Regions from separate parts of the Homo sapiens genome. Here all the other regions are linked to region 1. The links are contacts of gene promoters, found by promoter capture Hi-C in blood cells and fetal thymus (Javierre and others, 2016). All regions are on one chromosome and are shown on one strand. Each heading gives the region's core, a stretch centred on a gene start or on the middle of the fragment in contact. The rest is flanking DNA. Distances are from core to core; before and after follow the strand shown.

Region 1 (2,846 bases), core at 248-2,747:
AGGGGGTGGGATCCTAGAACACATCTTAGAAGCTGCCTACGACAACCGCTGATTTTTAAGTAACAGTTACATCCTCTACATCTATTTAGACTTAGGATGGAGAATTTTAGATGTCATCTTTAAAATGCATGAGAGGATGCAGTTTTCCAAAATTCTTTTAGAAACAGACAATTTGAAGGCCACTGAGCTTCAGGCTTCATTCAGCTGGGTCGTGTCTGCGGGCGGGGCTCATAGAGATGTCGCTGGGGGTCAGCGGGTGCTTCGGGCAGCGAAAAAACCCACCTCTCGAGGGCAGTGGAAAATACAGGGAAAAGCCACTTGAGTGTAGACTCCGTGCGTGTCAAGGCCAGGCAGAGGCGCACTTGATAGGCAAGGAAAAGCGGACGGTGGTGGTCTTGGGAGGAAGAGAGGAGAGGCGAATGGGCAGGAGCGTGTGGATGCACTAGGGCAGGACGGGCTCGAAGCAGGAACCTAGGATAGAGGCAGCGCGGGCCGGCTTGGGAGGGTCCTCCAGGGTCCGGAGAGGAGAGGACGCAGGCTGCACGCGTGCTAAGAAGGAGACTCATGAAATGTGTAATTCGCTGGCGACAGCTTCCGCGGCCGTGGAGTGAGCCTCTGGGAAGTAACGACTCTCTTAGGTGCGGCTGGGACACAGTCTCACAGACCAGGTAAGTTGCCTGCCCTCCAGGAACTCAAGTGTCCCCGAGTCCGAGCCAGGAGGCTGGAAGTGACTGCTGTCCCATCCTCCCTGGAGCCCGGAGCTGTCCTTGTCTTGAGAAAGAGAAAGCAAAGCCAAGGAAAGCAGAGCGAGCAGAACCAGGCAAAGGGGTGGGGACAATAAAATGGGATATGGCCCGCGCTTCCATCTACTCAGGAGGCAGAGGCAGGAGGATCGCTTGAGCCCGGGAGGCCGAAGCTGCAGTGAGCTGCGGTTGCACCACTGCACTCCAGCCTGGGAGACAGAGGGAGACCCTGTCTAAAAATAAAGTAAAATAAAAAACAAAAATAAAAGGGACAGAGACTAAGAAAACGGACTTCCTGAAATCCCAAGTTGGGATTTCACGTCCAGTGACCCACAAGAGAAGCAAGAAGTCTGAACAGGGCCAAGAATCAAGTGAGTGGGGGCGGAGGATTAAAATCGACAGTTGCTGCGGCACGGCCAGGGTGGAGGGTGCATGTGGGGCAGGCGAGGCTCCAGCTGGAGTTGACGCTAGCCCGACGCGGGTGCAACTGGAGGCGCGACGGGCCAGGCCCAGGAGCAGCGGGAGGAGCGCACCTGGGGCGCGCGGGCGGAGGAGGGCCGGGGAGGGACGCCGGAAGGACTGGGTAGGGACGCCCGGAGGACTGAGCGTAGGGCCGAGAGGAGGGGCGCAAGGAGGAACGGGGGGAGGGCCCTGTCTCACCCTAAACCCCTCCCCGTCCCAGACTAAACTCCTCCCCTCGGCCCGGCCCGCCCCTGGGCCCGGGCTGGAAGCCGGAAGCGAGCAAAGTGGAGCCGACTCGAACTCCACCGCGGAAAAGAAAGCCTCAGAACGTTCGTTCGCTGCGTCCCCAGCCGGGGCCGAGCCCTCCGCGACGCCAGCCGGGCCATGGGGGCCGCACGCAGCCCGCCGTCCGCTGTCCCGGGGCCCCTGCTGGGGCTGCTCCTGCTGCTCCTGGGCGTGCTGGCCCCGGGTGGCGCCTCCCTGCGACTCCTGGACCACCGGGCGCTGGTCTGCTCCCAGCCGGTGAGACTCGACGTGGGGAGCGGTAGCCGCCAGGATGCTGCGGACGCGGGGCAAGGTCGCGGAGGGCCGGACGGTCGGGACTACGCGCCCGGGCTGGGGAGGCAGGAAGTCCGCGCCGCGGGCTTAGAGGGGCTCAGAGCCTTGGGCACAGATATCGCGGCGCCTGGGGAGGACCCTCGGAGCGGTGGGAGTTGCGGTGTGGAATACGGGGGGGGTGGGTGGCACATCGCGCGGCGCGTGTTGCACAACCTGGCCCGCCGTCGTGACTGGAGGCGGGAGTGACACCTCCGCCCGGGCCGCGGAGTTCGGGGAAGGAGGGCGCGGCGCTGGGCCAGGCCGGAGGGGCGGCCAGGGCTGATAGAAAGGGGCTGTGGAGAAGGGGCCCGGGGAGGAGCCAGGACGGGTCTGGACCCAGCTCCACGCCTTGCGCCCCTCACGTACCCCGGCGGGGCACGGTCGGCCCTCGGGAGGCCCATCGCGCCCTCGGGAGCTTCCCTCAAGCCGTGCCCTTCATGCCGCCGACGGAGCCGGGCGAGCCCACGTCGTCCGTGCGGAAGGTGGAGTCCCTCACCCGCGGCCCCCAGAGGGACCCCGCTGTCGTAGAGCCACGCGGGGGCCGGAGCGCTGAGACGCGGCACCATGTTTCGGGGAGAGCTCTGCCGAGGGCGGCTGAGGGCCACCTCCCCAGAGGCGCGAAGCCCTGAGGATGGGCAGATGGTTCTTAAGACGGCGCCCTTCCCGCCACTCCCACCCCCGACTACCACCACCTGGGTCTGGGAACCCGGTGAGAGCGCAGTCGGAGGGTCGAACGTTTGTAGCTGTCAAGTCGTAGCCCCGCTGCGCCCACAGGAAGTGACCCACCCGCCTGCCGGGTAGTGGCCTTTCTGTGAGCCAGGACCATCTTAAGGAAAAAAACAAAAAAAGAGCAAAACGCCGTGCCCCTCCACAATATACTCTCCTCTTCCCCGCATCCCCGAGGGGATCTTTCCTCCCCTCCACCTCCACCTCCACCTCCACCGCTGACCCCAAGGAATAATGCTCAGTATCTGAGTCAGAGGATGTAAAACAAAGGGATATTTCTCCTTATGTAGTTTTATGGAGGATTTACCGAAAGAAGGT
Region 2 (2,846 bases), core at 259-2,758, 440 kb after region 1:
GCTTGAGCCTGGGAGGTCCAGGCTCCAGTGAGCTGAGATCATGCCACTGCACTCCATCCTGGGCAATAGAGCGAGACCCTGTCTCAAAAAAATAAAAATAAATTAAAAAACAAGCCAGGTGTGGTGGCTCATGCTTGTAATCCCAGCACTTTGGGAGGCCGAGGCGGGCAGATGACTTGAGATCAGGAGTTCAAGACCAACCTGGCCAACATGGCAAAACCCTGCCTCTACTAAAAATACTAAAATTAGCTAGGCATGGTGGCACACGCCTGTAATCCCAGCTACTCAGGAGGCTGAGGCAGGAGAATTGCTTGAACCTGGGAGACAGAGGTGGCAGTGAGCAGAGATCAAGCCAAGACTTCATTCCAGCCTGGGCAATACAGCAAGATTCTGTCTCAAAAAAAAAAAAAAAAAGCAAACAAGCTTATGAAAAAAGTGCTCAGTATCATTGATCATCAGAGAAATGGAAATCCAAAACTATTATGAGATATCATCTTACACAGTTAAAATGGTTTATACCCAAAGGACAGGCAATAACAAATACTGGTGAGAATGAGAAGAGGAAATCCTCATATACTGTTGGTAGGAACATAAATTAGTCCCCCGCTATGGAGAACAGCTTAGATGTTCCTTAGAAAACTAAAAAGAGAGCTACCATAAAATCTATTAATCCCACTGCTGGGTATACACCCAAAAGAAAGGAAATCAATATATTGAAGAGATAACTACACTCCCATATTTTTTGCAGCTCTGTTCACAATAGCCAAGATTTGGAAGCAACCTAAGTGTCCGTCAGCAAATGAATGGATAAAGAAAATGTGGTACTGATACACAAGGGAGTACTATTCAGCCATAAAAACAGAAAGATGCAGTCGTTTGCAACAACATGGATAGAACTGGAGGTTATTATTTTAAATGAAATAAGACAGGCACAGAAAGACAAACATTGGATATTCTCACTTACTTGTGGGATCTAAAAATCAAAATAATTGAACCCGTGGAGATAGAGGGGAAAAGGATGGTTACCAGAGGCTGGGAACGATAGTGGAGGGTTGGGGAGAGGTAGGATGGTTAATGGGTACAAAAAAAATAGTTATTATGAATGAATATGATCTGGCATTTGATAGCACAGCAGAGAAGTATGGCTTTTTTTTTCTTTTCTTTTCTTTTTTGTTATTTTTGAGACAGAGTCTCACTCTTTTGCCCAGGCTAGAGTGCAGTGGCATGATCTGGTCTCACTGCAACCTCCACTTCTCAGGTTCAAGTGATTACCATGCCTCAGCCTCCCAAGTAGCTGTGATTACAGGTGTACACTACCACACCCGGCTAATTTTTGTATTTTTAGTAGAGATGGGGTTTTGCCGTGTTGGCCAGGCTGGTCTTGAACTCCTGGCCTCAAGTGATCCATCTGCCTCAGCCTCCCAAAGTGCTGGGAATACAAGCGTGAGCACACACCCAGCCAGAAGTACTATTTTCATTCCAGTGGTGAGAAGGTGGAGAGTAGACAAATATTGTGGGATAATAGTGGTGAGTGATCTGAAGTAAAATTAGGCAGGTTTACAGGTAAAGAGTGACATGGCTGGGCGTGGTGGCTCCATCTGTGGTCCCAGCTACTTGGGAGGCTGTGGCAGGAGGACCCCTTGAGCGCAGGAGATCGAGGCTGCAGTGAGCGCTGATTTCCCCTGCTGAACACAGCCTGGGTGATAGAGCAAAACCCTGTCTCAGACAAAAAAGAAAGCCCTCTCTGAAGATTTGACATTTAAATAAAGTGAATGAGGTTGACCCGTGAGTGCCTGAAGCGGAAGGCGCAGTGCAGACAAGAGCAGAGGCACGGAGGCAGGGATATGCAGCAGGAAGTCCAGGGCGAGGCTGCAGCGGAGGGGAGCAAAGCAAGCACAGGAAGGCTGGCTGGAAGTCCCGGCGCGGCTGGAGCGGAGCAGAGCAGAGCAAGCACAGGAAGGCTGGCTGGGCATGAATTGAGTCCTACCAGGTAGCCCAGGGTCGCATTGGGATGGGCTGTGCAGACCTTGTTAGAAGGGTTAAATGGGCTGGGCGCCGTGGCTCACGGTTGTAATCCCAGCACTTTGGAAGGCCGAAGTGGGCGAATCACGAGGTCAGGAGATCAAGACCATCGTGACTAACACGGTGAAACCCCGTCTCTACTAAAAATACAAAAAATTAGCCAGGCGTGGTGGCACATGCCTGTAGTCCCAGCTACTCGGGAGGCTGAGGCGGGAGAATGGCGTGAACCCGGGAGGCGGAGCTTCCAGTGAGCCGAGATCGCCCCACCGCACTCCAGCCTGGGCGACAGAGCAAGATTCCGTCTCAAAAAAAAAAAAAAAGGAAGGATTAAATGAAAACAGGACAGTCTCTGACACACATTTAAAGTCACAAATGATAGTTTTCTTTGTTTGAGACAAAGTCTCGCTCTGCCTCCCATGATAGTTCTTATGGAAGGAATTTTTGTAAGCCATAAGATACTTACAATAACCTTTTCCAGACTTTTTAGTAGCTTCCAACTACAAAAAAAGAGAAATAATCAATTATGTACTAATCAGACACTTTTAAAAATTACAACAGTTTATTCAGAGAAACAAGCTTTGTGTGACATTCTAAGCGGATTTTATTCTGCAGGTCCTTTTAACATAATGAGTAATATTTGTGTTGGGAATGACTGAGAAGAAATTTCATAATGATGTGAAGATCTACCTGTAAATAGTTCCTCTGTCGTATGCTGGTATTTATATTCTAGCATCTCAACAGTGCTGATGGTCACTCATCTTGGAGTTCCCTGAATTTTTTTTTTTTTTCAAAACTCCTGTAATGTTACATTACCCATACTTTTG
Region 3 (2,846 bases), core at 99-2,598, 380 kb after region 1:
TAGTCTTAGCTGGCCTTTAGTTCCATCCTGGAGACCTGTTTGGGGGTGCTGTGTGTCTCTTTGTAGACCTGTCAATCCTGTGGTTGCTTCCCTAATTCGCAGCATCAGGGAATCACCCATTACCGCGATGGGTTTCCCCGGTCGTGCTGCTCTGCCAGCAGCTGTAGCAGCTCTTATTTGTAGAAATGGGACGTTCTGTTTATTGTAGGTCCTAGTCAATCTGATATGAGGAAAGCTTCTCTTCTCTTTCTCTGTTGGTTCAGAGTTTATTCTTTTTTATCCAAAGCAACTGCTGATACACAACTTACTGATATTAAGTTTGATTCCCACCAGTCTCCTAAAACAATGGTGATTTTTTTTAAGAAAGTTATTTCCTTTATCCTCTTTTAAATATTCTGTTTGTGAGACAGTATTTTTCAAGTCCCATTCTCTTTCAAGTATTCAAAGATGGTGGATGCCTCAGGCAGAAAAATAGATACAACAAACTCCCTATATTTCCCACCCCATCTGTACTTCCTGTTGGGGTTAGGACTCATTTAGAATTTACCATCATTTGCTAGGCACTTTCTCCTGAAACTCCTGGCGAGGAGTTTGATGGCTTTCGTTATCAGTAGACCAATTTATCCAGGTAAAAGCAATTAGCATTCTCCAGTGAGCCCAAGTGTGTGAGCCCTTCTCATGGGCAAGCCTTTGTGCACCAGAATACACAGAAGTCAGTCTTCGTTCCAGATGTTTCCCATGTTTTTCCTCTGCGATGGGATTGGGTGGGAGTGAAGAAACCATGCCTATGACAACAGAAGAAACAACATGAGTCAAGACTGGGAAGTACCCGTTACTTTTTTTTTTTTTTTTTTGAAATGGAGTCTCGCTCTGTCGCCCAGGCTGGAGTGCAATGGCACAACCTTGGCTCACTGCAACCTCCGTCTCCAGGGTTCAAGTGATTCTCCTCCCTCAGACTCCTCAGCAGCTGGGACTACAGGTGCGCACCACCAAACCCGGCTAATTTTTTTATTTTTAGTAGAGACAGGGTTTCACCATGTTGGTCAGGCTGATCTCGAACTCCTGACCTCGTGGTCCACCCGCCTTGGCCTCCCAAAGTGCTGGGACTACAGGCATGAGCCACCATGCTCGGCAGTACCTGTTACTTTTTTAAAGATAAAGATCTTGACCGGGCGCGGTGGCTCACACCTGTAATCCCAGCATTTTGGGAGGCCGAGGCAGGCGGATCACGAGGTCAGGAGATCGAGACCATCCTGGCTAATACGGTGAAACCCTGTCTCTACTAAAAATACAGAAAATTAGCTGGGCATGGTGGCGGGCGCCTGTAGTCCCAGGCAGAGCTTGCAGTGAGCAAAGATCGTGCCACTGCACTCCAGGCTGGGCAACTGAGCGAGACTCCATCTGAAATAATAATAAAAAAAAAAGATAAAGATCTTAAGATAATACTGAGAAGGTGTAGGTTGAGGTCATTTGGGGAGGCTTTGAATGTTAAGTTCAGGATACAGACTTAATCTGATGAATTGCGAGGAGTCTTTGGAGGCTTCTACACGAAAGCAATATTGTCAGAATTGAATTTAAGCAAATTTAATTGGGCAGAGGTTTAGTCTGTATTGGATATGGGGAACCAGTTTGGAAGTCCCGGTGAGAAGTTTAGGTCATCAAAACCTGCCTGTCCTAGGCCAGCTGCAGTGGCTCACGCCTGTAATCCCAGCACTTTGGGAGGCCGAGGCGGGTGGATCACGAGGTCAGGAGTTCAAGACCAGCCTGGCCAAGATGGTGAAACCCCATCTCTACTAAAAATCAAAAATCAGCTGGGTGTGGTGGCGAGCACCTGTAATCCCATCTACTCAGAAGGCCGAGGCAGAGAATTGCTTGAACCTGGGAGGTGGAGGTTGCAGTGAGCCAAGATCGTGTCACTGCCCTCCAGCCTGGGCAACAGATCGAGACTCCGTCTCAAAAAAATTTATTAAATACTCACTGTGGGCAAATACAATTTTGGGGAAACAGCCACAAACCCAAAGCAGACAAAGCTCCTCAAGGGGTTTGCTTAATAATGGTGGAAGACAGAAAATAAATGCATATAATCAATAGCTGGTAGGTTAGTTAGAAAAATAAAGCAGAGTAGAGGGACGAGACAGTGACTGGACCTATAGAAAGTGAGGGAGAGGCTATTCCAGGCAGAACCTAGTGCAGATGCCCCAGCCGGGAGTGCTGAGTGTATCTGAGGAGCAGGTAAGAGGCCAGTATGAGTTAGGGAGGTGATCAAGGATGAGAGTAGTGAGAAGCGATGTTAGCGTGTCAGCAGGAGGCTGACAGGTGAGGTCTTAGAGGTCATATAAACTTTGGATTTAGTTCTAAAGGAGACATTGGTACAAAGGGGTGGAATGCTCTGACTCACGTTTCGAAGGCTCACTAGCTGTTGATATGAGGAGCAGACAGAGAGAAGCAGGGAGTTTGGTGAGGAAGCTTTTAAATGGATGAAGCTCAGACAAATGGGCCATGGAGATGGTGTGAGAAGAGAGGGGTTTCTGAATCTCTTTTGAATATAGTCATCAGGATTTGTTAATTGACTAGATGTGAAAAGAGAGAAAAAGGGAAGAGTCAAGGATGCCTCAATTTTTTGCTGGAGAAATATGCCATTTACTGAGACTGGGGAGTTAGAGGGAATCAGGTTTGAAGAGGTGAGATCCAAAGCTCGGTTTGGTTCTGTTAAGTTTGCGCTGCCTGTTTGACATTCATTGCTGACGTCGGGGACGGGCACTGGGATAAGGGGACTCCGGAGTTGAGGAGAGGTGGGGGGGTGTAATGAGAGCCAGCCTAATCGATGGGATTTTGAGCCATGATGC

What was found. The method cuts DNA at HindIII sites, captures the fragments that hold promoters and counts their contacts. A CHiCAGO score of 5 or more calls a contact.
Region 2: a fragment that was not itself captured here is called in contact with the fragment with the promoter of IL17RA in region 1 in 1 of 17 cell types (M2 macrophages); the score reaches 5.5 in M2 macrophages.
Region 3: a contact is called between a fragment that was not itself captured here and the fragment with the promoter of IL17RA in region 1, in 1 of 17 cell types (endothelial precursors). The highest score is 5.3, in endothelial precursors.

Annotation. Positions count from the first base shown.
Region 1 is chr22:17,083,503-17,086,348 of GRCh38, forward strand. IL17RA (interleukin 17 receptor A) reads left to right here and starts at 1,498. Exons shown (of 13, transcript NM_014339.7): 1 at 1,498-1,727. The coding sequence starts at 1,590. RefSeq lists an enhancer at 558-727 and silencers at 1,281-1,500, 1,521-1,640, 1,891-1,990, 2,031-2,280. The HindIII fragment of the contact is 13,521 bases long and covers 1-2,846 here.
Region 2 is chr22:17,527,373-17,530,218 of GRCh38, forward strand. The region is part of intron 9 of CECR2 (CECR2 histone acetyl-lysine reader); the gene reads left to right. Among named protein-coding and RNA genes, the nearest start is that of SLC25A18, 35 kb to the right of the region's middle. The HindIII fragment of the contact is 2,175 bases long and covers 422-2,596 here.
Region 3 is chr22:17,460,957-17,463,802 of GRCh38, forward strand. The region is part of intron 1 of CECR2 (CECR2 histone acetyl-lysine reader); the gene reads left to right. Among named protein-coding and RNA genes, the nearest start is that of CECR2, 93 kb to the left of the region's middle. The HindIII fragment of the contact is 2,231 bases long and covers 234-2,464 here.